Regions from separate parts of the Homo sapiens genome. Here all the other regions are linked to region 1. The links are contacts of gene promoters, found by promoter capture Hi-C in blood cells and fetal thymus (Javierre and others, 2016). All regions are on one chromosome and are shown on one strand. Each heading gives the region's core, a stretch centred on a gene start or on the middle of the fragment in contact. The rest is flanking DNA. Distances are from core to core; before and after follow the strand shown.

The links. Contacts are between HindIII fragments. The CHiCAGO score rates a contact against its expected background, and 5 or more counts as called.
Region 2: a contact is called between a fragment that was not itself captured here and the fragment with the promoter of DYNC1LI2 in region 1, in 9 of 17 cell types (total B cells, naive B cells, fetal thymus and 6 more). The highest score is 8.4, in total B cells.
Region 3: a fragment that was not itself captured here is called in contact with the fragment with the promoter of DYNC1LI2 in region 1 in 2 of 17 cell types (naive B cells and total B cells); the score reaches 5.9 in naive B cells.

The regions. Positions count from the first base shown.
Region 1 is chr16:66,749,704-66,753,641 of GRCh38, forward strand. DYNC1LI2 (dynein cytoplasmic 1 light intermediate chain 2) reads right to left here and starts at 1,906. Exons shown (of 13, transcript NM_006141.3): 1 at 1,782-1,906; 2 at 1,570-1,643. The coding sequence starts at 1,888. It overlaps DYNC1LI2-DT (DYNC1LI2 divergent transcript), which reads left to right and starts at 2,049. Exons shown (of 2, transcript NR_133569.1): 1 at 2,049-3,197; 2 at 3,293-3,938. RefSeq lists a silencer at 1,534-2,333 and an enhancer at 1,547-2,262. The HindIII fragment of the contact is 3,643 bases long and covers 1-2,835 here.
Region 2 is chr16:66,392,044-66,395,981 of GRCh38, forward strand. CDH5 (cadherin 5) reads left to right here. Exons shown (of 12, transcript NM_001795.5): 7 at 93-340. Among named protein-coding and RNA genes, the nearest start is that of LINC00920, 15 kb to the right of the region's middle. The HindIII fragment of the contact is 9,921 bases long and covers 1-3,938 here.
Region 3 is chr16:66,454,296-66,458,233 of GRCh38, forward strand. All of the region lies in intron 2 of BEAN1 (brain expressed associated with NEDD4 1), which reads left to right. It also overlaps the pseudogene LOC107984807. Among named protein-coding and RNA genes, the nearest start is that of BEAN1-AS1, 20 kb to the right of the region's middle. The HindIII fragment of the contact is 1,408 bases long and covers 1,283-2,690 here.

The DNA.
Region 1 (3,938 bases), core at 656-3,155:
AATTAACCTAAAAGTCCAGGTACTGTGAACTAAAAAAAGTCTGATCCTGCTTCACAATGGTGAAGAATGGAAGTTATTCACTTTTGATTTTAGTACATCTCCTTCACAAACATTCTGAAGGCTAAGAAACTGACGAAAATAATTATAGACCTAGCAAAACTCTTCAGTACAATCTCAGTTAATTATTAAGCACTTCTTCATCTCCCTCCACCCAAACAACACCCCCCTTCCCCGGATCCTTAAACATCAAGGAGAACCATCGCCAAACATTACTAGGCACTTCTGCCATTTAATAATATGGAATTACAGAACATGAGAATTGAAAGGCAGTCAGTCCACAGATCAAAGACCTCCTCTCCATCTCCAATGCCTCTACCTTATTCAGGCCCTCTGCATCCAGACCAAGGTGAGGACCTGTCAGCCTGACTTCAGTACCTGCTCATTTTGAGCTACTGTCCCTCTGCAGGCAGCGTTCTTTCTAAAACTCAGATCTGGTGATCTTGATCCCCCACTTCTTGAAGATCTCTAAGGGTCCGGTATTACCTACCACAGTCAATTCCTGAGAAAGGTCACACATTCTAACAGTAGGAAAACTACCAAGGCAGTGATTCCCATGGGAATTGGGGGATGGAGGTGAGATAAAAGCCATTTGAAAAATCAGAGAACTTCAGGAAACAGCACTAACTCTTCAGCCTTCCCACAATCTGCCCCCAACTTACCTTAGCAGCCACCAACCACAAGGCGCTTCTAGCAGTTTCCAAACCCCACACCCTCTTGTCATCTGTGTCCCTGCATACTGACACTTTTCTGCAAAATACTCAACCCCCGAATCATCCTCCTTCACCAGCTCTAAGCAGTGTAATGCTTCCACAATAATCGGCATGGTGCAATGCAATCACCAATACATCTGTCTTCCACCAGACTGAGATTCTTCTATAGTGTTTAAGAGTCGCCTATGCTGAGCCTGTGCCCAGCCCACAGGTCCCAAGCAACAAATGGACTTGCTGTGTGAATGTACCCAAACTCCCTCACTTGAGGAGAGTGAGGCCAGAGGGAGTAAGGGACCTGACTCAGGTAACCTAGCAGTGAGGGCTAGCATAATGGAGGAAACGTCCCCAGTGCTGACTCTCTGTCCTCTGCAAAGTCCCTAAAACCTCGGACTATGCACTACTGATGAGGCTCAAAGAAGGCTCCCGTGGTCATTTCCCCACAGCTCCGAGCCCAGGTCACCTCGTTCTCCCACCTTCTCCACCTAATCTCATCTACTAGCTTCCCCTCTCCACGACCTCAATTTGGTAACCGTCGAGGCAATGAAGGCATAGAGGGCCAAGTGACTGAAACAATATGCCGACAACCCCAAAGCACCACTACGCTCTCCAAAGAGGGCAGCATCCCACCCTCAGGCGCTGGAGGCTTGACCACTCTCCAGCTGACCGGCCAGGGCCGACGGTCCCTTTCCCGCCAGGCTGCGGGCAGGCGGCTGGAACGGGGAAGGCGGGGACCTGAGGGAGGGGCGCCCGCCTCGCCCACCCCAGCGACCTGGGGCAACGCCCCGCCGCCGGCGCTCACCGAAGACCAGGATGTTCTTGCCGGACGGCAGCTTGGACCTGGCGCGGGTGGACACTTCGCTCAGAATGGAGGACCTGTGGCGACAATGGCAAGAGTGGTCAGCCCCGGGCCGGGCTGGGATGGCCCGGCTCGCGTCGGCCCCTCAGTGTGTCCGACGGTCCGGCCCAGAGGCCGCGCCCCCCACGGCCCGGCCCGACCGCCCGCGGCCTCACCATAGGCTCTGGCCTTCCTCCTCCTCACTGGTCAGGTCGCCGGCGGCCGCCACCGCGGGCCCGTTGGGACCTAGCAGCAGCTTCTTCTCCACCCCCACCGGCGCCATCTTGCCAACTGCAGCCACAAAGAGGGCCCTCCCCCGGGCCCGCCGAGGACCCGCGAGGACCCGGGCCGGGCCGCCCCCCGCTCGCCGTCCCTCGCGCCGCGCCGCCCGCCGACCTTGCCGCGGCGACTGCGCCGCCCAACGTGTCCTCTAGGTCTGCGATGGCCACGGGCTCCCACGGGTTGCGAGGCCGCCGAGGTGGCGGGCGGCGGTCAGGCAGCCGCCGGGGCAGCCATGCGCGGGGAGGCGGTGGCAGGGGCGGGCACCGTCCGGACCGAGGGCGCGCTGGCGGCCTCTGCCGGCTGAGGGGCGCAGCGCAGCACCCCGCCACGCTCGCCGATTCCCCTGCGCCGTCGCGGGTCGGGCAGCCGGATGACCGACCCGAAAGCCTAGGCTTTGGGAATGAGACTGATGGACACAAAAGCGCCATTTATCTAGAGCTCACCATGTGCCAGAGTCACACATTATCTCACTGAATCTTATCTAACCCTTTCACAGATGAGGAACCTGAAGCTCAAAAAATTTAAGAAACCCACCCAAGGACCCAAGGCTAGAAGATAACATTCGGTACTTCTAATTTATTCCCCAACCTTGGACCATTATATCATGAACTTGGCCTAACCCTACTCAAGCCCTGCATTGAAAGACTAGCCTTAAGGAAGACCCCAGAATCCTCATAAATATCCTGCATTTCCCCCTCCTCCTCCGAAGACTAAAGACTGTGAAGTAGTGCTCTTGACCGCAGTGCATAATACACTTGGCTTTGCTTTATTAACATGCTTTTTAAAATGATGTTTTCAGGGAGCCAGCATTTCACACCAGAAGAGGAGCCCTTAATTTCCTTGGGGGCCAGCTGGCAGGTGCAGAGCGGGGAGAAAAATAAAAGGAAAGGGGATGGAAAAGGGAAAGAGCGGAGAGTAACCGAAGGAAAAACATACATTCCATTATCAAGCTTAATTTTAGGTGTGGCCTCTACTTGAGGGCTCTTGCCATTCTCTATGGAAACAGGCTAACAAGACATTTCTAAATATCACAAGGAAGTGGAATGTGGCAGAAAAGCACCACCTAAGTAGGTTTCAGATGAGTAGGATTGTGATCCTGATGCCAAAAAATCTGGCGGCATGAATTACGGGATAAAACAAATGGGCATATCATCTGCCAAACTGGATGTAAGGTTTAAACAAGACGAGAGTGAAAACCCACTGAGTTCCTCCCTTGGAAATCTGGGAAAATCAGGCAAAGTGCCAGAAGTCCTAAAAGGGCAAGCAGTGCTGAATTTTCACAGGACAGAAGATGGAGATGAAAATTACAGGCCAGTGAGCTTAATCAGCACTAAGTGAAATTTTGTGATTAAACACTAAAGGAAAAGAGAATACCAGATTTACACAGTATCTTTCTTTTTTGCAGGAGTACCAGGTAGGCGGATGCTGCAGATACAGCAAATGCAGATTTCAACAGGGCATTTGACAATTCACATCTTAGATGCGAAAGTGAAATCAATGCTGGATGATAGCACTGAGGCTTATTAAAGACTAGCCCAGAGGTGGCTGATGAAGAGGAGGGACCAGCAGATGAGGCTGCTAGGGGCCTGCCCAAACCTCCTGCCCTGGCCAGCCAATTCAGGGTGCCATCAGTGACTTGGATAAGAATACAGCAGCAGTCATGGAAGTTGTGGATGACCTGAAGCAGGAAGGGTTGCCTTATCTACTGCATGACAAACTGAGCAGAGACTAAATCTAACAAGTTGAAATTTAGCAGGAACTATTAAAGTCCTGTGGAAGAGTTTAACAAAAAAGCATAGGAAGGCCAGGTACGGTGGCTCACACCTGTAATCCCGGCACTTTGGGAGGCCGAGGCTGGCGGATCACTTGAGGTCAGGAGTTCCAGACCAGCCTGTCCAACATGGCCAAACCCCGTCTCTACTAAAAATACAAAAAAAAAAAAAAAAAATTAGCCAGGAATGGTGGCATCCGCCTGTAATCCCAGCTGCCTGGGAGGCTGAAGCACGATAATTGCTTGAACCCAGGAGACAGAGGCTGCAGGGAGTTGAGAT
Region 2 (3,938 bases), core at 1,048-3,547, 360 kb before region 1:
CTGGTACTACCTTGCATAGTTGCTGTGCAGATCATGTGCCACACACATGCTTGGCCCAGAGCAGGCACTCACCATCCTTTTTCCTTACGCAGCCTCTGGATTATGAATACATCCAGCAATACAGCTTCATCGTCGAGGCCACAGACCCCACCATCGACCTCCGATACATGAGCCCTCCCGCGGGAAACAGAGCCCAGGTCATTATCAACATCACAGATGTGGACGAGCCCCCCATTTTCCAGCAGCCTTTCTACCACTTCCAGCTGAAGGAAAACCAGAAGAAGCCTCTGATTGGCACAGTGCTGGCCATGGACCCTGATGCGGCTAGGCATAGCATTGGGTAAGGGGGCGTGTGTCGATGAGAATGATAAGGACAATCCGGCCTGGATGTTCCTATGCCTGCTGGTCTGAGGCCAGGACTCAGAGAGGGGAACTGGCTTCTCCTAGCACTTACAGGGAAAGTGACAGAGGCAAGACCAGAAGCCCAAGCTCTTGCACTTGGCAGCCTGGCATCTTGACCTGCCTGGACTCCCCCACCTAGCATGGTCCTGGGCATCCAGAGCTACTTGTCCTCTGTCCGGCCTTGAAGGCTTATTCTCTGCACCACAGCTCTCACCAGTCCTATGTGGTAAGATCTGACAGTCAAGAAAGCAACCAATCAGACGACACACCAGAGGCCCCTTCACTAAAACTGTATTCTTGAATCTATCTTCCCCAAACCACAAAAGTAAGAAGTGTTCATTTTATACAGTGAAACAACACAGAGATCTACCAAGAAAACACTGATAACCCCCACTCTCAGATAACTCATGTTCGTGGCCTAACCTGGTCCTATTGCTCCTTTCTTTTCGTGACCACACAAACATGTGGATGCATTTATGGTGGGTTTGTTGTTGTCTGTTTGCTTTTGATGTTTGATTGTTTTAAAATTTTTTTGGATCATGCCATGCTGGTTTCATCGATATTTGCTCTTCTATCTTAACTAAATTTCTCTTTTACAATCTTTAGAAAAAAATGATATAGTTCCAACAGATACTTTTTAGAGCCATATAATATGCAATAGTAAGTATAAATTCAATTCAATCTTATTTTATTGTAGATGCATAGCTGATTTTGCCAGCACCATTTACTAAATATTATAATAATAAGTCATCGTTTTCCCACCTTCATTATATACTAAGTTTTCTGTATATACCTGTATCTACTTCTAATTCTCTGTCCTATCCATCATTCTATAGCAAAGCTATTCTGTTTTATTCTACTAGCTTGTATAAGTCCATTCTCCTATAAAGAAATAGTTAAGACTGGGTAATTTATAAAGAAAAGAGGTTTAACAGGAAGTATAGTGGCTTCTCCTTCTGGGGAGGCCTCAGAAAACTTACAGTCCTGGGGAAGCAGGCACGTCTTACACGGCCAGAACAGGAGTGGGAAGGGAGTTGTTACACACTTTTCAACAACCTGGTCTCATGATAACTCACTAGCTTGAGAACAGAACCTAGGGGATGGAGCTAACCCATTCATGAGAACTCTGTCCCATGGTCTATCCACCTCCCACCAGGGCCCACCTCCAACACTGGGGATTACATTTCAACATGAGATTCGGTGGGGACACAGATCCAAACCATATAGCTTTACACTAGATCTTAGATATACATAAAAGTCCTTCCCATGTTGCTTTTTTATTTGATATAATTTTTTGTCAACTCTCATTTTTTCTTTTGTGAAATTTAAAATTTTGTATCCAGGTTTTTTAAACATTAGAATTCTAGTGTTTATATATTAATTTTGGTATAGCTAATGTTTCAAGGGTATTAAGTCTTCTTATTAAGGACAAAATATGTTCTTCCATTTTGGCCTCATATCCTAAGTTTTGGGACTACTCTTCATTGCCATTCTTTTCTAAATAGCCTGTAATTATAATTTTTGTTTCTCCTTTGATCCAAGGGTTTATTTAAGAGATTGACTTGATTTCTTTATTTTCATTTATAAGTCATAGGGTGTTTTTTTTGTTTTGCTTTAGCTTGTTCTGTGATGTGATACAATTGTATTTGTGTCCACTTCTTCCTAGAATATCTAAGTTTTGACTTTATGTATTTAAATTTTTCTATTCAGTTAACAAAGGTTTGCAACTATTTTACCTTCATTATGGTTTGTAACTTTCATCCAAATGTAATTAGCCAATTTGTTCTGCTTAAATATTTTGCCTTTAATTCTGTTTCCTGATGTTACATTTGTTAGTCCTGTTTTCATGTTATTCATATACGCCTAATGCAAATTTTACAACCTTTACTTTTAATTTTTCCAGGTCATTTGGCATTAAGTTGTCTCTTGAAAACAAGAATGCATTTGGCTTTGCTTTTTAATCTAAACTGAAATGCTTTGTGTTTAACCTATTTACATTTTTCATCATAATTGATATGTTTGATGTTCCTTCTTTTATCTTGTTTTACATTTCTCATTTATCAAATTTAATGGCTTTTTTCTTTTTCCTCATCTTTGCTATACAGTCTATGTTTCTTTATTTTTTTTTTCTCCTAGATATTTGGATGAGGTGCATCCATTTTTATTTCTACCAGTGAGATTTACTTCTATCTGCAAAATTTAAAATGTTTTCTTGGACCTATATTTTCTAGTTAAAACTATTATAGACATACACACACCCATTGCTTTTCTATGTATGATAAAAAAAATCAATAGTTTTGTTTTAATTCTTCCCATGCCAGGTTTTTACTTTATATTGAGATGTTTAGTTAGATACAGTAAGTTTTCAAAAAAAAATTCAGGACACAAATATCTTAGTTCTTTGCCTTTTTTGGGGGGTGGGGGGGACAGGTTCTTCCTCTGTCACCCAGGCTAGAGTGCAGTGGCACAACCATAGCTCACTACAGCCTTGAACATCTAGGCTGAAGCAACCCTCCCACCTCAGCCTCTGAGTATCTGGGACTACAGGCACACACCACCACACCAGGCTAATCTTTTTTTTTTTTTTTTTTTTTTTTTTTTTTTTTTTTTTTTTTTTTGGTGAGACAGGGTCTCACTCTGTCACCTGGGCTGGGCTGGTCTTGAACTCCTGGCCTCAAGCAAACCTCCAGCTTCAGCCTCTCCCAAAGCACTCAAATTACAGATGTGAGCCACCATGCCCAACCTTGCCTTCTAATAACACCTAGATGTATTCGTATAATCCTCAGATTATAAACACTTCCCTTCAAAAATACTATCAATGTATTCTAGTATTTAATTTTGTGGGGGCATCTGAGGCAAATCTGATTTTTCTTTCCTCATAAGGAAATTATTTCTTTCTGTCTGGACTCTTTTCAGTTTCTTCACACAGCCTTGAAATTCGTAAGTGTCGTCAGGATTTGCCTAAGTATTGGGGTTTTTTTCAATGATGCCTGATGTCAATGACATCTTATAATGTGTAGACTCAAGCCTTTCTTCAGATCAGGAAACTTTTCTTTTCTTTTTTTTTTTTTTTTTTTTTGTTATTTCTTCTGTTCTGTTTGTTCTGGGATTTTCCTCATTAATAGCAACTATTATTCCTATATACACAAAACATATATATTTATCTTTCCATAGATTTTTCCTGATTTCTGAAAGAACTTTTTAAGTTTTTTATTTCACAAAGTTAATTTCTTTGTAATTACTTCTTATCTCTTCCAGCTCTTTTTGTATTCCTTCCTGGCTCTTGCCCAATGATCTTTTCATTAATCACTAAAACAAGTCCCAGCTATGGTGTGATGTCACCTGTTCAGCTCTGAAAGTGCATCTGATGGTCTCAGGTACCACCTCCAGTCCAGTGATGGCAATGTAACTAAGATCAAAGACATTATCTTGCTATCCTGAATCCCTCTGTGTAGGTCCACTCTTGTCTGAGTGGCAGAGTGCAATGAGCAGTGAGAGAGGGGCATGGAGTGGGATGCAGGGGACAGATGCAGAAG
Region 3 (3,938 bases), core at 737-3,236, 300 kb before region 1:
TAATTGCTTTGTCAGTTATTGAGATTGGGACATTAAAATCTCCACTATTATTGTTGAATTATCTATATCTTCTTTCAATTCTCCCAGTTTTTACTTCATGTTTTGGGGGACTTGTTAAGTGCATATATAATACATATATAGTTTTTATATCTTCCTAATATGTTGACTTTTTTGTCATTATGAAATGTCTTTGTCTCTAGAAATATATATCTTGCCTTAAAGTCTATTTTGCCTGATATCAGCATAACCACTCAAGCTGTTTGTATGCTATATCTCCTTCCATCCTTTTATTTTCAAACTATTTGTGTCTTTGAATCAGGTGTGTTTCTTGCAGTCAGCATACAGGTAGGTCTTGTCTTTTTATTTACTCTGACAATCTCTGCCCTTTAAGTGGAGTTATTAATCCATGCATACATCTTCCTTTTCTTTCTTTCTTTTTTTTTTTTTTTTTTTTGCTTTGGGTTTGGTTTTTTATTTTGTTATTTTTATTTTTTCCTGAATATGGATCATACTTTATAAGACAAAGAAACAAGAAAGTGTGATCCATTTGGATGGGCTCTTTCCAACAGTAGCAGGGAAGCTGCTGGTTTTCACAGACTGGGGAGCAGAGCTGGTGGGGAGGGGTATGGAGGCAGTCATAGGCAAGAACATTACAGGTTCACACTGTGCTTACCTGACATTCAGTCTTTTTCATACTAAGTGCTTCTCAGTTCGTTGTATGCCTTTGATCAATTTCCAGGAACTGCAATGGTACTTTGACAGTTTTGTCTAGCTTTATAGTTGCATGTATGGACTGCTAAATTATCTCCCTTAATCCTCACAGAAACACTCTGAGTGGTCATTACTCTTTTACAGATGAGGAAGCTAAGGTACGTAAGTATTAAATACCCTGGTCAGTGTCACTAAGCCAGGCTCTTAAACACTGCATTTACCACTTCTGGGTACATCCTCTCCCAGTAGCTTTTAGAGCAATGCAAGTAACACCCCCAAATCAGGATGATTATTCACAGCTACAACAGCAAGTAATGTAATGGTGACCTGCACATACCATAAGTTGGCTCATTCTCCCAAATCTGAATCACAGAGGGAATTTGTAAATTGGCTGTGTTGAATGATGCTAACTAGCACCAGAGAGCCAAAGAAGGAATGATTTCCTTTCCTTTTGAAGTTGAGCTACAGAGTGTCCCTGAGCTTCCTGGAGGCCAAAGCAAAACAGCAAAGTGGATCAGTTACATGATTCTCATGGTCTATGAGGAGAAAGTAGCTCTTTTGGAGAAAGAAAAGCTTTCCCTGGCCCTCATATCTTGGAGAAATTTATTACATGAGCCTTACCTAGGGATACTGAGAGGTATAGTGGACAATACCTGCAGCAACACGCTTATAATAAAGCTACTTTTTTTTTTTTTTTTGAAACAGAGTCTTATTCTATTGCCCAAGCTGAAGTGCAGTAGTGCAATCACAGTTTACCACAGCCTTGACCTCCCAAGTTCAAGTGATCCTCCCACCTCAGCCTCCCAATTAGCTGGGACTACAGGCACACGCCACCATGCCCAACTAATTTTGGTATTTTTTTAAGAGTCAGGATTTCACCATATTGCCCAGGGTGGTCTTGAGCTCCTGCGCTCAAGCAATCCGCCCACCTCAGGCTCCCGATGTGCCGGGATTACAGGTGTGAGCCACTGCTCCTGGCTGTGATAAAGCTACTTCTTAAGCTAGTCCCCTCAACACAGGCTCTGAGCATAAGGCAAAGCCCAACTCCAGGAAGCTCATTCTTGGGAAGGAGGCTCAGTCACTGTGGCCTAGGAACACAGCTCTAGGCTGGTTGAACTTGTTCCAAGGACTAAAACCTTTACTGTGCAGAGCAGCCTGTGGATGACATGGCCTTCACACAATCCTTTGTAAATATTCTCTCTCCCCTGGGTGGGATAGCTGATGAAAATTCGCAGCATTCATGAATTTAACATTTTACATGTCAATTATTCACTAGCTTCCTGGAAAGTCCATATTATAGTCAAAGGTCATTTTTCTGAGCCATGATTTTGAGTAGCAAAATGCAAGCTGGGGTGTGGGAGCAAATCCCCTAGCCGGTAGGTGGGCCCAGCCAGCCCCCCAGAATCTGCTTCTCAACCCAATTCCACTGTCTCCTACTTATCAGGCATGCACAGTAACTCCACTGGCATTATATTATATATATAAAAGCCTCTGGGCTCTTTGTGGAAAATGGCCCAAGAGCCAACTCTAGATGGTGATGGAAGAGAAGAGAATATGAGCAGGTTGAGTCCAGTCATTATTCTAGCAAGAAAATGAGAGCTTGGTGTGGGTTCAAGTGGAATGTTTAATTCTAATGTGGCTTGGTTCTGTGATGTCAACCAGTTTGCCATTTGCTCTGCAGAAATAGGGAAAAGTAATTTGTGAAATTGTTTCAGTGAGTTTTTCAGCCAATAAATAAGTTCTTCTTTAAGCCGGAGTTAAAACCTTAGTGAATGATGACAAGGTGGTAAACTTAAGGAAGTTAGATACGCAGAGGAATATGTGCGTTACTCTTAGTGAGTTTATTTAAATAAACTTAAGTGGCAGAATGTATCTTAATAGTGGAATGAATTGCTTTCATCTTACATTTATAGAACCATTAAGGGTTTGTGGGTGGTCACTTGTATTTTTCCAGTTACGTTTTAACACAATGGTTGAAAAGCTTCTATTTGGCAGTAAAGTGCTCTCCTGTTCACTCTGACACATTAAACAGATGGAAGCAGAGGTGGGAGCAGGGAACAGTGCCAGGGCAGCTGTGTGGGACCTCTTGCTTTCCCCAGTTTGAGAGGTCCATTTTAGTCTGATTCATATTTGTGTTCCCAGTGTCTAGCATATATCCAGGCATGAATTAAGTGTTTGGTGAGTATTGGTGAGGGGATGGGTGGATGGATGGATGAATGACGGATGGATGGATGATTAATGGATGGATGGATAAGTGAACGATTGAGTGGATGTTGAGTAGATGCATAGATAGGTAAATGCCTGAGAGGATGGATGATTTGCTGGCTGGGTGAATTGATGGAGGATTGTTGAATAGGGACTGATGAATAGGTATATGACTTCACCTTCCATGTCTCCTGTCCACTGTAATCTGCCCCGCTCCCAATGCCACAAATGTCAGGTGGCATGGACCATGACAAGACATTAGTTGACTTCTTGTAGAGATGCATCCTCATTGTAAAAAGTAGTCTGAACACCAAGTATCCTTTTCCTCACCCCATGATCCAAATGTTCAGCTGCCATCAAGGTGACATCCTACAGACTCACCCCTCTGTGTTCCTGCCCATGCTCTTCTCTCCCTTTACTGATCCTGATATGCTTAGTTCATCTTTCGAGACCCAGCCCTTCTGTGTCCTCCTCTCTGAGATGTCCCTGGCCTGTCCCCAGACCTCCAACATCCCTCTATCAGTCTCCTGGTGACCAGAGGACAGATATCAGCAAGTGAGCTAAAAAGTTGCCCAAAAAAAAAAAACAGCAGCAGAGGAGACTCAGAAGTATCCAAACCAATGAGCCCTGCCCTGCCATGTCCCCTCCCCCAGCCCTTCTTGAAGTCCCTGCTTAGAGGATGGGATCAGCCAATGGTGAACAGAGGGAAAATGGTGCCTGAGTCGTGTTCCCTACACTCCTTCCAATGACTCCACGCCTCACCCTGTCCATTTCAGCAGTGGAGGAAGAGTGTACTGATGAGGCCAGACTTGCCCGGGAAGTGGACCTGTGACAAATGTCTTTGGAATTTTTGTGACAGGAGCCATCCATTAGTTCTGAGTCCTTGGCCCCCCTTCTCCCTCTAACCAGCATCTCTGAGAGAGTGGGCAGGATTGGCAGCCTGAAGGTGCTGAGTCAGCACTTTTGCGTCTCTGTTCCTTCCCTTTGTCACTGCAGCTCAGGTAGCTTCAGGCTGCAAAGAG